3 separate regions of the Homo sapiens genome follow, and regions 1 and 3 are each linked to region 2. Evidence: promoter capture Hi-C in 16 types of primary human blood cells and fetal thymus (Javierre and others, 2016). All regions are on one chromosome and are shown on one strand. The core of a region is centred on a gene start or on the middle of the fragment in contact, and the rest is flanking DNA. Distances in the headings are between cores, read along the strand shown. Region 1 has its middle 19 kb from the start of ZFP90. Region 2 holds the start of CDH1 (cadherin 1). Region 3 holds the start of ZFP90 (ZFP90 zinc finger protein).

Evidence for each region. Contacts are between HindIII fragments. The CHiCAGO score rates a contact against its expected background, and 5 or more counts as called.
Region 1: a contact is called between a fragment that was not itself captured here and the fragment with the promoter of CDH1 in region 2, in 3 of 17 cell types (erythroblasts, M0 macrophages and M1 macrophages). The highest score is 5.3, in erythroblasts.
Region 3: the fragment with the promoter of ZFP90 here is called in contact with the fragment with the promoter of CDH1 in region 2 in 2 of 17 cell types (monocytes and fetal thymus); the score reaches 7.1 in monocytes.

What each region holds. Positions count from the first base shown.
Region 1 is chr16:68,518,328-68,521,339 of GRCh38, reverse strand. No RefSeq gene overlaps it. Among named protein-coding and RNA genes, the nearest start is that of ZFP90, 19 kb to the left of the region's middle. RefSeq lists enhancers at 226-275, 316-365, 386-465. The HindIII fragment of the contact is 3,788 bases long and covers 1-3,012 here.
Region 2 is chr16:68,735,955-68,738,987 of GRCh38, reverse strand. It overlaps CDH1 (cadherin 1), which reads right to left and starts at 1,696. Exons shown (of 16, transcript NM_004360.5): 1 at 1,525-1,696; 2 at 577-691. The coding sequence starts at 1,572. RefSeq lists a silencer at 1,581-1,650, a cis regulatory region at 2,603 and an enhancer at 2,531-2,675. The HindIII fragment of the contact is 3,737 bases long and covers 55-3,033 here.
Region 3 is chr16:68,537,627-68,540,574 of GRCh38, reverse strand. It overlaps ZFP90 (ZFP90 zinc finger protein), which reads right to left and starts at 1,284. Exons shown (of 5, transcript NM_001305203.2): 1 at 1,096-1,284; 2 at 750-817. The coding sequence starts at 782. The HindIII fragment of the contact is 12,761 bases long and covers 1-2,948 here.

The DNA of each region.
Region 1 (3,012 bases), core at 338-2,837, 220 kb after region 2:
CTAGCCTGGGCGACAGAGTGAGACCCTGTCTCAAAATAATAATAATAATAATAATGATGATGATGATAATAAAGTGAACACATTGCTTGACTGGGCTTTGCTCATTTGCTTTGCTTTCTTCCATTCTGTTCCACTTTCTCTTCGCTCTGTTTCCAGGTCTGCTGTTGTGTGATCTCCAAGTGACTTTCCCTCTCTGGGTTGCTATTTCATCTGTACAATGCAGGAGCTGTTTTGGCTGATCCAAAACACCATTTTAATTTTTCCTACCACAACTGCTAAGTCCAGTTCAACCAGTGAAGGTGTGACCTGAGCAGAGGTGAGAAAACACGAAGGTGAAAGTAAGCTGGGTCCTTCATCTCTGCCTGGACCTTGGCCTGGGCTCACGGCCTGCCTGGGGCTGATGGCCACAGACCCCCGCCCCCACCCCAGCGTCTGATACGCCGCGCCTGGGGCGATCTTGGTACCTCCCCGCCACCGCGTGGGGACAACACATTCGCAGCTCCGCGGTTACCAAGGCGACCCAGCTGGTGTATCCTCGGTAGCCCCCTAGCGGACACTTATGGAACCTGCAGTTCTTTCCTTTACCTCGGGCGGCGTATTTCACCTGCAGCCCTGTCCAGAGAGGGGGCGGCTCTCTTACCTGGCCTCTGTATTGCTTCTCTCTACCCTGAGCCTGGCCACCCGCCCCACCTCTCCAGACATTTCGGTTTCTCCTCCAGGGACCAGGCTTCTCTGGCTTTGTCACCCAGGCACAACAGCTCTAATTACCCATCCCTTCCAGCCAGGGTCCTGGGGACTTCAGAAGGGCTGTCACCCACGGCACTTCCAAAGTCCCTCTCGAGAGTGTAAAAGTCTGGCCGGGCGCGGTGGCTCACGCCTGTAATCCCAGCACTTTGGGAGGCCGAGGTGGGTGGATTATCCAGCCTGGCCACCATGGTGAAACCCCGTCTCTACTAAAAATACAAAAATTAGCCGGGCGTAGTGGTGGGCGCTGTAATACCAGTTATTTGGGAGGCTGAGGTGGGTGGATTATCCAGCCTGGCCAACATGATGAAACCCCGTCTCTACTAAAAATGCAAAAATTAGCCAGGCGTAGTGGTGGGCGCTGTAATACCAGTTACTTGGAAGGCTGAGGCAGGAGAATCGCTTGAACCTGGGAGGCGGAGGCTGCAGTGAGCCGAGATCATGCCACTGCACTCCAACCTGGGCGACAGAAAGACTCTGTCTCAAAACAAAAAAAAACAAAGAAGAGAGAGTGCAATTTATTATTATTTTTTTCTGAGACAGAGTCTCGCTCTGTCGCCCAGGCTGGAGTGCAGTGGCACTATCTTGGCTCACTGCAACTTCCGCCTCCCGGGTTCAAGTGATTCTCCTGCCTCAGCCTCCAGAGTAGCTGGGCTACAGGGGTGCACCACCAGGCCTGGCTAATTTTTGTATTTTTAGTAGAGCTGGAGTTTCACCATATTGGCCAGGCTGATCTTGAACTCCTGACCTCAAGTGATCCACCTGCCTCGGCCTCCCAAAGTGCTGGGATTACAGGCGTGAGCCACTGTGCCTGGCAATGAGTGTAAAAATCTTATGTGATGTGGAGTAAAATACCCTTCCCTCGGCCAACCCCCTGTCCACACCCCACCCCCAGCAACCCTTGACTCAGACTCTGGCTTTGGGATCCACTTTTCCTTACAGGCCTCGTGCATCTGTGTGATGGAATCCCATAGGCAGCACAGCCCGGCCGGAATCCAGGGAGCCACTAGTGCATGGGGTGGGGCAGCATCACCAGAACTGGGCATACAGCCTCTGTTGGGAGACAGGCAAGCATACAGACAAGCCAACCCAATACAGGACTGGAGGTGGGCAGTCACAAGGTTGGTGGCGCAGTGTGCTGGGAGCACCACATGGAAGGGGGAGGACCACAGCCTGAGCTGGGCAGAAAGGCTTCCTGGAGGAAGTGATGCTTGAGCCTTGAAGGATGAGTAGGCGCTGGCCTGGGGTAGAGATCTCAGTGATGGCTTGAGGGGTGGGGGAGGACTTCTCTTCAGAGTCTACCTTCCTGAGTGTCACTCCTCATCAGGGCCCCTCCTTGCCCTTTTCCTCTTCTCACCCTGTCCCCATTCCCTGGGCAACCTTCCCCAGCCCAGCAAATGTAACCAGCATCTCCTTGTTACACGTGATCCTTTTCTCCTCGTCACAGGCAGTCCCTGGATGTGCCCTGGACTTGCTTGCCTTCCTGGTGAGTTTATTCATCCTTCAAGACCCAGCTAGAAGGCTGAGCACAGTGGCTTATGCCTGTAATCCCAGCACTTTGGGAGGCTGAGGCGGGTGGATCACTTGAGGTCAGGAGTTTGAGACCAACCTGGCCAACATGGTGAAACCCCGTCTCTACCAAAAATACAAAAATTAGCCAGGTGTGGTGGCGGGTGCTCATAATCCCAGCTACTCGGGAGGCAGAGGCAGGAGAATTGCTTGAACCCAGGAGCCAAGGTTGCAGTGAGCAAGATTGCGCCATAGCACTCCAGCCTGGGCGACACAGCGAGGCTCCGTCTCAAAAAGAAAAAGACCCAGCTAGATGTTCACTCTTTCTGGCACCTTCCCAAAACCACCCTTTCAATCCTGTATTTATTCCACAAACTTCTACTGAACACCAGGTATTAGGCCCAGGATGTGGCCCTACATTGCAACTTTTTTTTTTTTTTTTTTGAGACAGGGCCTCACTCTGTCACTCAGGCTGTGGTGCAGTGGTGAAATCATAACTCACTGCAGCCTTGAATTCCTGGGCTCAACCAATCCTCCTGCCTCAGCCTCCCACGTAGCTAGGACAACAGGCGTGTCCCACTATGCCCGGTTAATTTTTGTATTTTTTATAGAGATGGGATCTTGCTTGTTGCCCAGGCTGGTCTTTAACTGGCCTCATGTCATCCTGTCACACTGGCCTCCCAAAGTGTTGGGATTACAGATATAAGACACCGCACCTGGCCCCTACATTGCAACTTTCTGTTCATCTGTCGGTCTTCC
Region 2 (3,033 bases), core at 447-2,946:
CAACAGAGCAAGACCCTGTCTTTAAAAAAAAAAAAAAAAAAAAAAAAAAAAGCTTTTATATCTGTAAACAAAAGCCACAGCCCAGTAACCAAGAGAGGGCTGCTCTTCAGTCATCCCAGAGATGGTGCTTAATGGGGCCTGGGAGTCAGATCCCAGTTCAGATATCTGCTCTGCTGACCCTGAGCAAGTGGACGTCACTCTCTTAGCCTCGGTTTGCTCAACTGTAAAACGGGAATACTCCTGCCAGGCCTTCCCACCCACCAGGTTTTTGCAGTCTGAAATGAGAGACTGTCTCTACAGTGCTGAGGGCAATAAGAGAAATACGAAGGCTTCTAGTAAGTGCCCTCAACCTCCTCTTCTTTATAACATAGTCAACAACCAGGCAGGGTTACCCCCTCCACCACAGTGTTCAGTCGTAAACGTTTGGATCCCCAAATCTGCGTAAATTCCAAGGGGTGTCGTTTGAGCCAAGGAGGGAGCTTGCCCATTGCAACCCAGGGGTGTGGGAGTGCAATTTCTCGGCCCCTTTCCAACCCCTCCCTACTCCGCCCAGGGACACCGGCAGCGCGCCCTCACCTCTGCCCAGGACGCGGCCTCTCTCCAGGTGGCGCCGGGGCACCGTGAACGTGTAGCTCTCGGCGTCAAAGCCAGGGTGGCAGGGCTCCGGCTCCTGGCAGAGCCAAGAGGAGACCTGGGGTGGGGGAAAGGTAGATGGAACCGGGTGACTCGGAGGGTTCCCTCCTGCTCACCGAAACCAACAGCGCCGCCCCTCCCTCGCTCCCGGCGTCGGGATTGGGGGAGGACCCCAGCCCGCAGCCCCGGGACGGGCGGGCAGCGACGTCACCCTCCCCCACCCCGAAACCTACGGCCGCCGAGCCCCCAGGAACTCCCGGGAGGGGGCCGCCGAGTCACCCCCTCAAGACCTAGCCCACCGTTCCCTTTCAGTCTCCTTTCTCATTTTATTGGAGATGTCTTTATTCTCCAGTACCCCACTTTCCTTAGACCGGGAATGCACCACTCCTCAGAGCGAGGGGCGCTCCCACCTCCTCCGACCTCACTTTCTTATCCCCGGGACCCTCACTCCTATTTACGACCTTTCTTGGCATGGCAGGTGCCTTTATTTCTACGGATGCCCCTCTCCTTCCCTCGAAGATCGTCCCCACGACTCCTGGCTCCCCCTCGACTTGCACCAGGGCACCCCTTCTCCACACCCCACCCCCTACACCCCGCTTCACGCCCCCACCGCCCGCGCGAGCCCACCCCGCGGACTCCGCGGCCAGACGCCCCCGCCTCGGTCTGCGCTGGAGGGGGCAGGAAAGCCGCGCTCGCCCCTCACCACCCACCCCCCACTCCCATCACTGGGGGGTCCGGAGCGCGCGAGGCTTCCAGGCCGCTCCGCTCCTCAGGACCCGAACTTTCTTGGAAGAAGGGAAGCGGTGACGACGGGAGAGGAAGGGGCGCAGGGCTGGGGCGCGGAGCTTGCGGCCCGAATGCGTCCCTCGCAAGTCAGGGGATCCGGGGTACCTGCAGCAGCAGCAGCAGCGCCGAGAGGCTGCGGCTCCAAGGGCCCATGGCTGGCCGGGGACGCCGAGCGAGGGCAGGCGCCGGGTGCGGTCGGGTCGGGCCGGGCTGGAGCGGGCTGGAGTCTGAACTGACTTCCGCAAGCTCACAGGTGCTTTGCAGTTCCGACGCCACTGAGAGGGGGTGCGTGGCTGCAGCCAGGTGAGCCCCGGAGGCACCGCCCCCCGTACCGCTGATTGGCTGAGGGTTCACCTGCCGGCCACAGCCAATCAGCAGCGCGGACCCCTCCCCAGGGCGGAGCTGACGGCCCGCCCACCCGGCCTCGCATAGACGCGGTGACCCTCTAGCCTGGAGTTGCTAGGGTCTAGGTGGGTTATGGGACCTGCACGGTTCTGATTCCACTGGGTTCGAATCCCAGCCCCGCCGGTGGCTCACTAAGACCTGGGATCAGAAAGGGCTTTTACACTTGGCTGAGTTCTTTTGTTTTTTGGGATTTTTTGTTTGTTCGTTTTGGAGATGGGGTCTCACTCTTTCACCCAAGCTGGAGTGCAGTGGTGCGATCACAGCTCACTGCAGCCTCGAACTCCTGGGCTCAAGCGGTCCTCTGGCCCCAGCCTCTCTAGTAGCTGGGAGTACAGGTGCACACCACCACGCCAGGCTAATTTTTTTTTCTTTTGCCTTTTTGTAGAGAGACAAGTCGGGGCGGACAGGGGCAGTGGGGGCGCTGTGTCTCCCTGTATTGCCCAGCCTGGTCTCGAACTCCTGGGCTGAAGCGATCCTCCTGCCTTGGCCTCCCAAAGTGCTAGGATTTCAGGTGTGAGCCATGAGCCACTGAGCTAGCAGCCTAATTTTTTGTTTGTTTGTTTTGTTTGTATTTTTTGAGACGGAGTCTCGCTCTGTCTTGCCCAGGCTGGAGTGCAGTGGCACGATCTCGGCTCACTGCAACCTCCGCCTGCCGGGTTCAAGAGACTCTCCTGTCTCAGCCTATTGAGTAGCTGGGACTACAGGCGTGTGCCACCACACCGGCTAATTTTGTATTTTTAGTACAGACGGGGTTTCACCATGTTGGCCAGGCTGGTCTGGAACTCCTGACCTCAGGTGATCCACCCTCTTCAGCCTCCTGAAGTGTTGGATTACAGGCGTGAGCCACTGCACTCTGCCTCGAGCGGCCTAATTTTTTAAAAAATTTTTCTAGAGAGGGGATCTCACTATGTTGCCGAGGCTGATCTCAAATTTCTGAACTCAGGCGATCCTCCTGCCTCAGCCCCTTTACTGAGTTCTCATTTTTTAATCTAGTCTTTTTTAACTGTAGAGCTTCATGGGTTAGTGAGTCAGCAAATTGATTCCCTAGGTCAGGACCACCTCCCAAAGCCTCAGTTTCTCCACCCTCCTAATGGGAATAATGATCAGAAATGTCTCCCTATGCTGTTGTGGGACTCCCATACAATTAAAATGACAAATGTTTCTTGAGCCATAAATGCTCTGTACAGAAGTGAGGGGTAAAAATAGTAA
Region 3 (2,948 bases), core at 35-2,534, 200 kb after region 2:
ATCTTGATGTATTTTCACCAATATGTAAATCAATGGATAACCTTAGAGTTGTGACGCTTCTAGAAAATGCCCCCTCTGCCACAAGAATAAATGGGTTCACGAATCAGCCTCACATTAAGGTGAAGGCTGGACTTCTGGCGGTGGGGAGTGAGTTGCTCTATTACATTTTTGTTAAAGCAGAAAAGGACAGACACAAAAAGCTCTGGGAGAATCAGCCCTGGTTTTATTTTTGGTTGTTTTTTATTTTGTTTTGTTTTTGCCTCCTTGCCCAAGAAAGCCCATCTCCAGCCTCTTCCTAGACATGTTCTAACCAGGCTTCTACGGCCCCTTACGGACTCTCTATGGGCCCTGGGTCAGAAGCTGGGGCTCCTCTCTCCACACTTGCCGACAGTCACTTCCTCCTCTACAGTGTTCCATCCTGTGACCCCACTCTCTCCATTTCTTATTGACAAGAGTTCAAAAAACTGGCGTGGCATTCAGGACTCTCAAAACTGACACTTCCCAACGCATCCAATCTCAACTCCTCCCACAAGATCGCACCACACTGGCCCTCTCTACCCCACAGAGCAGCCTCCCCTTTGGGAATCCAGCTCCCCAAAGCCTGGGGTTTTCCATGGCCAGGAGGCTCCGATCGAGCCAAGCAAGTAAGGGAGTCGCCAGGCAGAGAACAATGACTGCTCCAAACACCCTTGGGAGATGGGATGGATAGATGGATGGGATGCCCAGGAGGTTAGGAACGCGTTGCTCACCTGGGGCGCGGCGGTCGGAGGCCTCGGGGCCATTCCTGCCTCGCCAGGGCCCGGCTCCGGGGCAGGAGCTGGGGAGAAAGGACAGGGCCCACTCACCCCGCTGCAACACCGACCCCACCCCGCCCCGCCCCGCCCCACCTCCGCCCCTAAACCACATCTCCAGGGGAGATGGTGGCGAGGACCGTGGAACCAGCCCGGGCCTGCCGCTCCCCATCCCCGAAATGAAAGGCTCAGCGGCCTCCCGGACACCCCCCTCCGGCCACGCCCAGTCCCCTTCGCAGGGTGGTGGGCGAGGCCCGGCTGACACCCGCCAAACCCAGGAGGGGTCCCGCCCAGACCCGCGCACTCAGAATCACCGCCTCTGGGGGGCTCCGGATTTCGCGACCTCCGGCCCACCCAGAGCCTCGGGCAGCTCCTCCCGCCCCCGCCGAAGCCTCGGTTATCTCCAATTCTGATCTGCGGAGGGGCTGCCCAAAGGGGCCTCAGCCGCACCGGGGTCGGACAATGGCCGCAGCGGTGGGGCAGAACTGGAAGTGCGCCTGCGCACTCGGAGCCTCGCTCCTGCAACCCCGGGTCCACGCCGGGCGCGCGAACTACACTTCCCAGAGGCCCGCGCGCGCAGGCCCCGCCTAGGCGGCTTCCGAAGGCGCGTTAGGGACCCTTGCGAGGGCCGAGGGAGGCGGCCAGTGTGGCTCGAGTGTGCGTGTCCCTGTATTCCAGTCACTGTCCGCCTCCTCTTTGCAAGGGGCTTGTTGCTAGCTGGGGAATCGGCCGGGAAAGACCCTGGTTTCGGGGAGCAATCGTACGCCCCTTTCGACGAGGCTGACGATAAAAACGCAAACATGTCAACAAGATAATGTCAGGTCCTGACTTCAGCGGTAAGAGTGACACAGGAAGGGAGTGAGACAGCGTCAGAGGGTGGGGCATTTACATCTTCTTCAAAAGGCAATTTTCCATTTCTCATTTTAGAGAAAAAAGAAACTTCGGACAAATCCGTGGCCTCCTGAGCAATGTGCAAAGGCAGATCTACTGCCGTGTTATTTCATTACTTCGTATCCCCTTACGCAGGATTTTGTTTGGGACAAGCAAACAATGATGGAAATTTTCTTTTTTTTTTTTGAGACACAGTTTCGCTCTTGTTGCCTAGGTTGGAGTGCAATGGCGCGATTTTGGCTCACCGCAGCCTCCGCCTCCTGGGTTCAAGCGATTCTCCCGCCTCAGCCTCCCGAGTAGCTGGGATTACAGGCATGCGATGCGTCACCAGGCCCGTCTAATTTTGTATATTTAGTAGAGACAGGTTTTCTCCATGTTGGTCATGCTGGTCTCGAACTCGCCTCGGCCTCCCAAAGTGCTGGGATTACAGGCATGGGCAACCGCGCCCGGCCCGATGGAAATTTTCAACACAAAGATAGGTCAACTTTTAGATACAGCTATTACGTTTATGTAATTATGTCTTATATATCACAGACATTCAGGCTACATTTCCTAGATTTCAGCTTGATTTCTTAACATTAGAGCATTGCATACCAACATGGTAGAAAATGACTGCAACGAAATGTTCCTGATGTCACACTGCTTTATCAAAAATATGAACATTCAAAAATAAATGCTTTATGCCGGGTGCGGTGGCTCAAGCCTGTGATCCCAGCACTTTGGGAGGCTGAGGCTGGCGGATCACCTGAGGTCAGGAGTTCGAGACCAGCCTGACCAACATGGAGATAGCTCGTCTCTACTAAAAATACAAAATTAGCCAGGCTTGGTGGCGCATGCCTGTAATCCCAGCTACTCAGAAAGCTGAGGCAGGAGAATCGCTTGAATCTGGGAGGCAGAGGTTGTGGTGAGCCGAGATTGCACCATTGCACTCCAACCTGGGCAACAACAGCAAAACTCCATCTCAAAAAAAACAAAACAAAAAAGGGAGAAAATTTCCATCACTGTTGGCTTGTCCCAAACACAAAATCCTGCGCAAGGGGCTAACAAGTAATGAAATAACACGTCAATAGCACAGGGAGGCTGAGGAGGGAGGAGCCCAGGAATTAAAAGACCAGCTTGGGCAACATGGCAAAACCCTGTCTCTACAAAAAATACAAACATTAACTGGTTGCAATAGTGTGCGCCTGTGGTCCCAGCTACTTGGGAGGCTGAGGTGGGAAGATCGTTTGAACCCGGGAAGCAGAGGTTGTGGTGGGCTGTGATTTC